Regions from separate parts of the Homo sapiens genome. Here regions 2 and 3 are each linked to region 1. The links are contacts of gene promoters, found by promoter capture Hi-C in blood cells and fetal thymus (Javierre and others, 2016). All regions are on one chromosome and are shown on one strand. Each heading gives the region's core, a stretch centred on a gene start or on the middle of the fragment in contact. The rest is flanking DNA. Distances are from core to core; before and after follow the strand shown.

Region 1 (3,547 bases), core at 596-3,095:
TTGGAGGCTGTCTAGGGAGGTCCAGACATCTTGGGAGAGACTGGGGTTCTCTTTTGCGCAAGAGAGCATGGGCAGGCTCTGCGGGAGGCCCTTGGGGCAGGCATCAGGGCTCTGGTCCTCCTTGCTTTGGCTCGGTGGGCCCGAGCTCTCCTGTCTCCCCAGGCCTCCTTTCCTCCGTGGGGTACAACTGGGCTCTGGGTGGGCAGGTGGGGGCTCCTGCAGGCAGTGCTGTTTTCTCCAAGGGGGATGCACGTGACCCGCCAGACCCTCCTGGAAGCCGCCTCTTCTCAGGGTGGTTGTGCTCAGCCCCCACTTCCCGAAGGTCGGTGAGGCTGGGGCTACAGTTTCAGACCAGAGCAGGCAGTGCCACCGAGAGGGTGCCGCGCGAGGTAGGCCGGCGACGGGGCTTCCTGGGCCGCAGTGCCATCCCGGCGACCTTGGCGAGGGGATGGGAACGGGGTGTCCGCACAGCCATTTCCAGGCGCCCGCGACGGCAGTAAGGGAGTGTCCCAGGCGTTGGTCCCGGCAGCCACACCTCGCTTCGCCTTTGCTCACTCATGGAGAGCCCTCAGCCGCCTCCCACTGCCGCTCCTGAATGCGCCTCACACATCCAGATTTGAAAGCACCCATAGGGCCGCCGCCTCCCACCTCCCGAGGAATCCGCTGCGCTGGGCCCGCAGGGAGGCAGGCTGGACGGCCCGGGCGCCTCCCCATTGGTTGGCCGGGCCGGGCTCGACTCCCTCGCGCGGCTGCCGGCCACAGGCTCACCTCCCTTCCCGCCGCGCCCGGGGAGAGGAAGCGAGGTGGCCTTTACCCCTGCGCAGGCCGGCCAGGAATGCGGGGCCGCGCTTCCCACTCTACCCGCCCGAGGGCTGAGGACGGCGGAGGCGAGAAGCGACGCGCAGAGTCCGGGCGCCGAGTGGTGGAGACGCGTCCCAGGCCGTTCGGATCGGGGCTGCACACGGGCTGGGGCGAGGCCCGGGCCGCTGGTTCCCGCCCCCTCCCGGAGCCATTCGTCCCCCGCAGACAACACGACGGGAGGGACCCACGCGCGGCCGCCGGTGCCCCTAGTCAGCCAAAAGCGAGCCCCACTGGCGGGCACCCCCACGAGGCCTGCGCCCGAGGTGCGCCGATCTCCGGGTGCGCCGAGGCCCCCGAGGGTAGGCGCGCGCGGTGCCCAGGCCCTTCCAGACCCCGCACCCCGGGCGGCCTTCCTTGGGGGCGCCTTTTCCGCACCGCGAGCGGCCCGCGTTGATGCCCGGCCGGGCTGGGGGAGTCGCCAAGTTTGCGAGACGCGCGCAGTGCAACCGCGCGTCAGGCGCGGGGACGGCCGGTGACCTGGGCACCCGCGCGCCCCCGAGGAACCTGCGCGTGGGCAGCGCCCGGTGCGCGGCCCGGGAAGGGAGCGGGTGCCCTCGCCGGGGTCGCCGCTCCCGTGGGGTGTTTCCAGGCTGCTCCGCGCTCGCGGGGCAAGGGCGCAGCGGGGGCCAGGGGGACCCCCGCGCCGCGCCGCCCCAGCCCCCCGCCAGCCCAGGGGAGGGGGCTTCCCACAATGCCCAGCGAGCTCCAGCCCGCACTTCCGCTGTCCGGCTGCCCGCGGGGGGGAGAACGGACCCCCGGCGCGGCCCCCTGCGACCCCGCGGCGCGGCGCCGGGAGCCGAGCGAGGGGCGGGGCCGGCGGCCGGGCCGGCGTGGGCGGGGCCCGGGGCGGTGGCCGCGGCCGGGGCGCGGCGCGGGCCAATCAGCGGCGGCCGGGCGCGCGCCGGGGGGCGGGGTCAGGGTCCGCGGGCGGGGCGCGCGCGCGCGGGCGGCGGGGGCCGCGGGGTTGGAGCGGGCGCGGGGGCGCGCGCCGGCCTGACGGACCGACGGACGGACGGACGGACCGAGCAGCCCCGGCGAGCGCGCAGCTCGGACCCGCCCGGACGCAGCGCCCTCCCGGCGGCGGCGGCGATCACCGGCGCCGGCCCGGCGGCCGCGGCGCCCGCCCTCGCCCGCGCCCCATGGGGTCACAGGTAAGCGGCGCCGGCTCATTGTCCGCGCGGCCGGGCGGGCGCATCGCGGCGGGGGCCGGGCCCGGAGCCGGGAGCCGGGAGCCGGGGCCGCTGCGAGCCCGGGCGCGCCCCCGCCGCCGGCCGCCCCGCCACGCCCCGCCCCGCGGGGGCGCCCTCCCGGGGGCCATCGGCGCTCCCAGCTGCGGCGCGGGCTCCGGGGGCGGCGGCGGAGACCCCGGCCCGGCCCCCGCGGGTGCCCCCCAGGCCGGCGGCGCGGGGCGGGGCGCGCGGGGGCGGCGCGGGTTCCCCGCGGGGCTGAGCGCGGAGGCGGCTGGGCTGCCCCGGCCCCTCGGCCCCCGGCACCTCCCGCCGCCGCCGCGCTCCCTCCCCGGCACCTCCGAGAGGGGAATTTTCCAGCTGGTAATTTCTGCTGCGTCAACGCCTGGCCCCGAGGCAGCCCGGGGGCGTCTTGGCGCCCCCCGCCCGCGCCCCCCGCCGGCACAGCCCAGCCGCACCCGGAGCCGCCCGCGCCGAGTTTGCCAAGAGTCGGAACTGCGGGAGGTGGGCGCGGGCGGGTCCCGGCGCCCTGAGGCCGGGGGGTCATTGTCTCCCCGGACGCCGGGCGCCGGCCTGGTCTCCATCTTAATCGCCGGCCGAACCGGGGCGCAGGGGCCTCGGGGCGGGGCGGCTCGGGGCGCGGAGGGCTCGGGGCGCGCGGGGCGGACGGGGCGCGCGGAGGAAGCGGGGTCCGCTGCGAGCCGCGTCTTTGTTTCTCTGTAAATAGACATGTCAGTTTCGCGGGGGAGCGCGAGCCGGTGTCTGACAACTCAATCCCTAAGGCAAACGGGGAATTCTCTGCGCCAGAGGGAGGGCTCCTGCTAGTTGGGGTTCCCCTGGCCCCGCTGACAGATTCACTGTTTGTAGGTTTAACGAAGCACACACAATAGGGCTGGACCGAGGAGCCAGGGTACAGACCAGATGGGGCGAAGAACGGATATTTTCTGACAGCGAAGAAATATAAACAAAAGAAAGTTTGAGATTCGCAGCGAATTTCCTCTCTCGCTTTCCGTGCTGCAATCTCAACGATGCATTTGGAGTGGATTACGGTGGCAAGATTGTGATCAGCATTGTTTAAAGAAATGCTAATTAGAAACGTGTTTAGCGCGCGGCCTGGGCGCAGACACCTGTGCGCCGAGAACTCACGGGCATTTTAATTGTATCGATTGTAGAATCTTTCATATTGGCTCTATTATCAGAGCTAACTTCCCGTTTGGGTAACAGACTGGATACATCTCTGCTGCTGGCACTCACGCTGCCTCTGCAAGGCACTATTTCACTCTACAAGAGTGGAAAATAGTTTGTTCATCAAAAGGAAATGTATAGAAGGGGTTTTTCACATGAATAATGAAGCAAGCGACAGTATTTATCAGAGTAGAACCTTTCTGCTCGGTGTGTTTTACGTGTTTCCAACTGGCACTTTTGGGCACCTCAGCCTGGTTACCACTGCAGAAAGGACTGAGGAGTGAGGGGAGTACTTGGGCACAAGTTACTGCAAA
Region 2 (3,547 bases), core at 485-2,984, 330 kb after region 1:
GGGCCAAGCTGGCCGAGACGACTGGACCCACTGGGCCGACCTGGGCCGAGACGACTGGACCCACTGGGCTGAGCTGGGCCGAGACGACTGGACCCACTGGGCCGAGCTGGGCCAAGAGGACTGGACCCACTGGGCCACGCTGAGCCGAGACAACTGGACCCACTGGGCCACGCTGGCCGAGACGACTGGACCCACTGGGCCGAGCTGAGCCGAGACGACTGGACCCACTGGGCCGAGCTGGACAAGATGACTGGACCCACTGGGCCACGCTGGCCGAGACGACTGGACCCACTGGGCCGAGCTGGGCCGAGACTACTGGACCCACTGGGCCGAGCTGGACAAGATGACTGGACCCACTGGGCCACGCTGGCCGAGACGACTGGACCCACATGGCAGCGGACTTGACCTGGGTTTCACCGGTGACCTAATTATATGCTCATCAACACACAAATCACACTCGGCAGTGCCATGACAGTTCCAGGAACACACATATTTGGTGTAAAAAAGGGTGGCACCACAGTTCCTAGAAATCTTCACCTTTTTCCAGAAATCTTTATGAATATTCCACTCCTTGGTTAAAGAAACCCATTAAAGGTAGGGGCCCCAAACCCTGCCTCACGACTCACTTTCTTGAGAACACCCATACTCCCCTTTCTTCTTTGACTTTTTTTTCTATTTGCTTGTTTATTTTTATGAGGCAGGGTCTCACTATGTTGCCCAGGCTGATCTCGAACTCCTGCCTCAGCCTCCCAATGTGTTAGGATTACAGGCGTGAGCCTTCACACCCAGCCACACTCTGCTTTCTGGAGGGTGTACTTTTTGCTTTGCAATAAATCTCTACTTTCATTATTTTTTAACTCATCCTTGAATTCGTTTTGTGATGGTGTTAAGAGGCAGGACACTGGCCTGGGTCAAGGTCCCATTCGCATTTGGGGACCTCCCCTGGCCACCAGTATCAAAAGTACTTCCTTGTTAATTTTCAGGGTTTTTTTTGAGACAGATTCTCACTCACTCTGTCACCCAGGCTGGAGTGCAGTGGCATGATCTTGGCTACTGCAACCTCTGCCTCCCGGGATCCAGCGATTCTCGTGACTCAGCCTCCTGAGTAGCTGGGAATACCGGCATGTGCCACCATACCTGGCTAATTTTTGAATTTTTAGTAGGGATGGGGTTTCACCATTTTGGCCGGGCTGGTCTTGAACTCCTGGGCTCAAGTGATCCACCCGCCTTGGCCTCCCAAAGTGCTGGGATTACAGGTGTCAGCCACCGTGCCCGGCTTACTTATCAGTTACAAAGGGCAAAGTGGTAACTTTACTGTGAGAAGCTTGTGGATGCCAGTTTAACCAGAGGATCAAAGGTACCGTTGCCGCTGGTGGGCAGCCAGCGTCCCGAGTGCTGGGAAGGATGCCTGGCTCTTGGTGCCAATCTGTTCATGCAGAAATGTCAGGAACGCTCAATGCGGGGACAATCTACAAAACAACCGGTTTGCATTCTTCAAAAGTTTCAGTGTCATAAAAGATTTTTAAAAAGACAGGCCCAATGTATATACCGTGAAAATAGTAAAACAATAAAATATAAAAGTAAAAAGACTGAAGTAACCTTGTCTTTGTATTGATGTGGAGTCAACCGCTGCTTCCAGTTGCGGGGGAGTAGCTGCTGCCAGGTACGTCTCCCTCCAGAAACGACTCTGAGACCAGACAAAATTCGTGCGCTGCTCTCTTCAGGCAGTGGGGTGAGGACAGCACAAGACCGAGAGGGTGCTTGGAGGCGCCCACACTCCCGGCTCTCCTTGGCCATAACCCCACAAGCAGGGCTCCAGGCAGAGCACGGCAGTCCCCCTGGGATGAGAGGCAGAGACTGGAGTGAGGGGCTTAGGTGTGCATGTTGCTGGTGGGGAGTGCTTGGGACCTCTGCAAGCCTGTGGCTGAGGGTGAGGAGGTGCCGGAGGCTCACCAGAGAGCAGTGACTATAGGCCCTGTGCTGTTATCCGTCACTGCATAACCAATCAACACCGATTTAGTAGCTTTAAAAAACATGCATTTATTCTCAGTTTTGGGGGGTCAGGAGCCCACACACAATTCCGCTGGGTGGCTCGGGGTTTCAAGAGTGCCACCAAGGTGTTGGTATTTCTTTCTGAAGCTTGAGGTCCTCTTTGAAGGCCACGTGGTTGTTGGCAGAATTCAGTTCCTTGTGGCTGTAGGACTGAGGTCCCTGCTTTCTTGTTGGCTGGCAGCCTGGGGCCACTCACTGGTTCCCTGATACGAGGCCCCTCCCATGCCTTCCAACAGCCATATCTTCACAGACAGCAGGGGTGTCTTGCTGCTCCGTCCCCCAGGACAGAGCCTGGAATGATGCAGCCAATCACAGAGTGACTTATCACCTTTCTGTGTTCTATGGGCTGGACACAAACCGTAGTGTTTCTCGGAGGAAAGTACTCAAGGCTGCGACTCACCAGGGATTACCTGAGGTTGTATCCACCCAGGTTAGAGCAGAACAAAGATAGTAGAGGACAAGCTGTGTCGGGCAGTATTTTGGCATTTGGCATTTGGACCTGGCCAGAGTGGAGAGACTTGGGCGGCATTGGCATTTGGCATTTGGACCTGGCTAGAGTGGAGAGACCTTACTTTTTTTTTTTTTTTTTGAGGAGAAAGGACTACAATGTACAATAATGCCTACTCCACACTCACCTAACGAAAGTTCAGACCAAGCCCCACAGAGATCTGCAGGGGAGACTGAGATTGAGGGTTGAGTCTTACCAAGGTAGCAGGACTTGGGAAACACTTTGGGCTTTCGACATCGACACTGACAAAGCATGAGAACAAGTCCACAGGGCCCAGCAGTGAACCAACCTGCAAAGCAAACACCGACAGCTTCAGAGGAGGAAGCAGAGTAGACTCTCCACATGATGTTCAGTATTCAGTCAAAAATCACTAGACACACGAAGAAACAGGACAATGCAACCCACGCTCAAGGGGTAAAAGCCAATTATCAATTGATTTATTTCCAGCTGCAAATTCACCCTTTATTGCCTTCCTCAAAAAAGTGAATCTCAGCTGGGTGCAGTGGTTCGCGTCTGTAATCCCAGGGCTTTGGGAGACGAAGGCGGGTGGATCACTTGAGCCCATGAGTTGGAGACCAGCCTAGGCAACATGGCAAGACCCTATCTCTATAAAAAATACAAAAATTAGCTGGGCGTGGTGGTGTGTACCTGTAGTCCCAAATACTTGGGAGGCTGAGGTGGGAGGATCGCTTGAGCCTGGGAGGCCGAAGCTGTGGTGAACCATGATTGTGCCACTACTCTACAGCCTGGGGGACAGAGTGAGACCCTGTCTCAGAAAAAAAGAAAAGAAAAAAAATGAATCTGCCCAGTGTAAAGGAGAAATGCTTAAAGTAATTCTGTCCACTGCTGTGGAGCAGGTATTGAAGGTTAAATTTCGAGCCAAAAGACAATAAACTAGTGGTTGGCATAATGCACCTATCATGTGGCTGAAACATCCTGGGGTGTGTACTGAGCAGGTACACCCGCACAAGAGAGACGCACACAAGT
Region 3 (3,547 bases), core at 693-3,192, 310 kb after region 1:
AGGATCAACCAGAACAAGAATTAATGACATGGGAATGAATGAACTGACGAGGATGTTTACTGTTTAATGACTTTTGTCTGAAGCATTACGGTTCTTTAATATTTTGTTTTCCAGATGTAAGAAAACGTTTTTTGTTTCTGTTTTTGTTTTTGAAGACAGGGTCTTGCTCTGTCACCCAGGCTGGAGCGCAGTGGCGTGACCACAGCTCATTGCAGCCTTGAATTCCCAGGCTCAAGTGATCCTCCCGCCTCAGCCTCCTGAATAGTTGGGACTACAGGAATGCACCACCACACCTGGCTAATTTTAAATTTTTTTTTTTTTAGGAGATTCAGGGTCTTGCTATGTTGCCCAGGCTGGTCTCGAACTCCTGGGCTCTAGCAATCCTCCTGCCTCGGGACTACAGGCCTGAGCTGCTGCGCCCAGCCTGGGCACGAAAGCCGTCTGTACGAGAGTTGCTGGGGAAATTTCTCTGAAGTCTGTATCAAGTGGGGCAGCTTCAGCTTACAGGGCTTTGGGAAAAGAGCAGTTTTAATTTTCAGTGACTCCATGAGGAATGGTGGAAGAAAAAATTGGAAAGAGTGGTTTGGTGAGCTGTAGGCAAATATTGGAGGAAACTGAAGTTCAGGACCCGGTCCGGACCACAGGTGGGCGACAAAACCTCCAGACAGCAAACCGGGCTAGAGTCTAATAGTGGGGGCACGAGTTTTATTTTGAAACATAATTTTTCTCTCTACAGTCAACAAATTTCTTTTTCTTTTTTTTTTTTTGAGATAGAGTTTCGCTCTTATTGCACAGGCTGGAGTGCAATGGCTTGATCTCGGCTCACGGCAACCTCTGCCTCCCGGGTTCAAGTGATTCTCCTGCCTCAGCCTCCCGAGTAGCTGGGATTACAGGCATGCGCCACCACGCCCAGCTAATTTTTGTACTTTCAGTAGAGATGGGGTTTCTTCACGTTGGTCAGGTTGGTCTCGAACTCCCGACCTCAGGTGATCCACCCACCTCGGCCTCCCAAAATGCTGGGATTACAGGTGTGAGCCACCGCACCCAGCCAACAAATTTCCTTCTTCCTTTTTTTTTTTGAGATGGAGTCTCGCTCTGTCGCCCAGGCTGGAGTGCAATGGCGCAATATTGGCTCACTGCAACCTCTGCCTCTCGGGTTCAAGTGATTCTCCTGCCTCAGCCTCCCAAGTCTCTGGGATTACAGGTGCCTGCTACCACGCCCGACTAATTTTTGTATTTTTAGTAGAGATAGGGTTTTGCCATGTTGGCCAGGCTGGTCTCGAACTCCTGACCTCAGGTGATCCGCCCACCTCGGCTTCCCAAAGTGCTGGGATTACAGGTGTGAGCCACCGTGACCGGCTGCAAATTAACGCATTTCTATCAAAGATAATAAAAGTAGGATTGTTTTCAAATTAACACATTTCTATCAAAGATAATAAAAGATTGATTTGATTGCAGAGTAAGTTTGGCCTCATTAAACCTGGTGTGGTTATTTATGTAAGTGGAACAAGAATAGTGATTAACCACATAGGTTCTTCCTCATTTTTGTTTTCCAACAGGGCCTCACCCTGTCACCGAGGCTGGAGTGCAGTGGTACCATCATGGTTCACTGCTGCCTTGACCTCCTGGGCTCAAGCCACCTTCCAGCCCCACCCTCCAGAGTAGCTGGGACGACAGGCATGTGACACCACACCTGGCTAATTTATTTGTATTTTAGTAGAGAGGGAGCCCCACTATGTTGCCCAGGCCAGTCCTGAACTCCTGGGCTCAAGCAAACCTCCCATCTCAGGCTCCCAAAGTGCTGGGATTATAGGTACACCTGGACACGTGGGCTCTTTTAAAATTTGCTTTACTGGAACTTTTTTTTTTTTTTTTCCTGAGACGGAGTCTTGCTCTGTCGCCCAGGCTGGAGTGCAGTGGCGCGATCTCGGCTCACTGCAAGCTCCGTCTCCCGGGTTCATGCCATTCTTCTGCCTCAGCCTCCCGCATAGCTGGGACTACAGGCACCCGCCACCATGCCCGGCTAATTTTTTTATTTTTAGTAGAGACGGGGTTTCACCGTGTTAGCCAGGATGGTCTCGATCCCCTGACCTCGTGATCTGCCCACCGTGGCCTCCCAAAGTGCTGGGATTACAGGTGTGAGCCACTGTGCCTGGCCTACTGGAACTTTTTATAAGGAATCTGAGATTGGGCTTTTAAAAGCCTCTTGAGGCTAGGAAGCCATCGCAAAGACTTGCCATCAGACTTTGCCTGCAATAAGTACAGATTTAGGGGAATTCCTCTCTTCTTGAGGTCCCTAAGGTATCTTAAGATTCTGGGACCTGCCAGGAATTGACATTCTTTACTCATCTGTAAGGGAACCACGTATGTGAGGTACCAGGCCAGCTTTTTTCCAAGGGGCTTTATTGGACCATGCAGTCAACCCTAACTCCTTTAGTCGTATCTGAAAATAGGACATTCCAGTCAAAGCCTTGGTAATATAACCAATGTTTTCAATTGTGCCCTATTACAAGAACAGATTCTCATTGAACTTATGCAAACCCACTAACAGTTTCTGAATTCTGGGATTAGGGAGGAAGAAAAAGATAAATATTTCACCGTTGAGGCCATTCTAACCTCCCTGCCTTTCTTCCCTGAAGCAGGCCATAAAACCCAGGAAGGCCACTCCCAGACCCTCTCCCTGCAGACCCTCACGTGGTGTCCCGCCCCCTAACCAGAGGAAAGGGATGTCAGAGTCAAGTCGGGCCTTGATCACACCCTTCCATCCTCCGCTCACTCCTGCTCCGCTGTGAAATAGACCATTTCTTTGGTCTTTGTTTTGAAGGGGCCCACATCACATGGAACTCGCATTAAATGTTTGTATGCTTTTTCTTTTTTTTTTTTAAGACAGAGTCTTGCTCTCTGACGCCCAGGCTGGAGTGCAGTAGCGCAATCTTGGCTCACCGCAGCCTCCGCCTCCCGGGCTCAGGGGATCCTCCCATCTCAGCCTCCCCAGTAGCTGGGACTCCAGGCATGCACCGCCACGTCTGGCTAATTTTTTTGTTTTTGATAGAAACAGGGTTTTGCCGTGTTGGTTGCCATGTTGACCAAGCTGGACTTGAAGTCCCGGCTTCTAGTGATCCACCTGCCTCAGCCTCCCAAAGTGTTGGGAATATAGGCGTGAGCCACTGCGCCCAGTTTAATCTGTCTTTTGTTCAAGGGTCTGTTGGATACAGTGAGTTCTAGATTTCTCTTAGAGGACTCAGCATGTATGTTCAGTTCTTTGTTCTCCATTTAACTCGTGCATAGTTTCAGTAAACAACCTTTTCCACCAGTTTTAATCAATAGTTCACATCTGTTCCCCTGGTCACCTGCTCCGTCCTGACTCATCCTGGTACCTGTTTTTTTTTTTTTTTTTTTTTGAGATGGAGTCTCGCTCTGTTGCCCAGGCTGGAGTGCAGTGGTGCGATGTCCGCTCACTGCAAGCTCCGCCCCCCGGGTTCCTGCCATTCTCCTGCCTCAGCCTCCCGAGTAGCTGGGACTACAGGTGCCCGCCACCACGCCTGGC

What was found. The method cuts DNA at HindIII sites, captures the fragments that hold promoters and counts their contacts. A CHiCAGO score of 5 or more calls a contact.
Region 2: a fragment that was not itself captured here is called in contact with the fragment with the promoter of ZBTB46 in region 1 in 2 of 17 cell types (monocytes and total CD4 T cells); the score reaches 5.7 in monocytes.
Region 3: a fragment that was not itself captured here is called in contact with the fragment with the promoter of ZBTB46 in region 1 in 1 of 17 cell types (monocytes); the score reaches 5.3 in monocytes.

What each region holds. Positions count from the first base shown.
Region 1 is chr20:63,829,562-63,833,108 of GRCh38, reverse strand. ZBTB46 (zinc finger and BTB domain containing 46) reads left to right here and starts at 1,845. Exons shown (of 5, transcript NM_001369741.1): 1 at 1,845-2,012. RefSeq lists a silencer at 1,688-1,827 and an enhancer at 3,410-3,547. The HindIII fragment of the contact is 15,017 bases long and covers 1-3,547 here.
Region 2 is chr20:63,504,206-63,507,752 of GRCh38, reverse strand. It overlaps LOC105372725 (a long non-coding RNA gene), which reads right to left. Exons shown (of 3, transcript XR_937004.3): 2 at 2,757-2,849; 3 at 2,021-2,398. Among named protein-coding and RNA genes, the nearest start is that of EEF1A2, 6.9 kb to the right of the region's middle. The HindIII fragment of the contact is 815 bases long and covers 1,327-2,141 here.
Region 3 is chr20:63,524,221-63,527,767 of GRCh38, reverse strand. No RefSeq gene overlaps it. Among named protein-coding and RNA genes, the nearest start is that of PPDPF, 5.2 kb to the right of the region's middle. The HindIII fragment of the contact is 4,217 bases long and covers 1-3,547 here.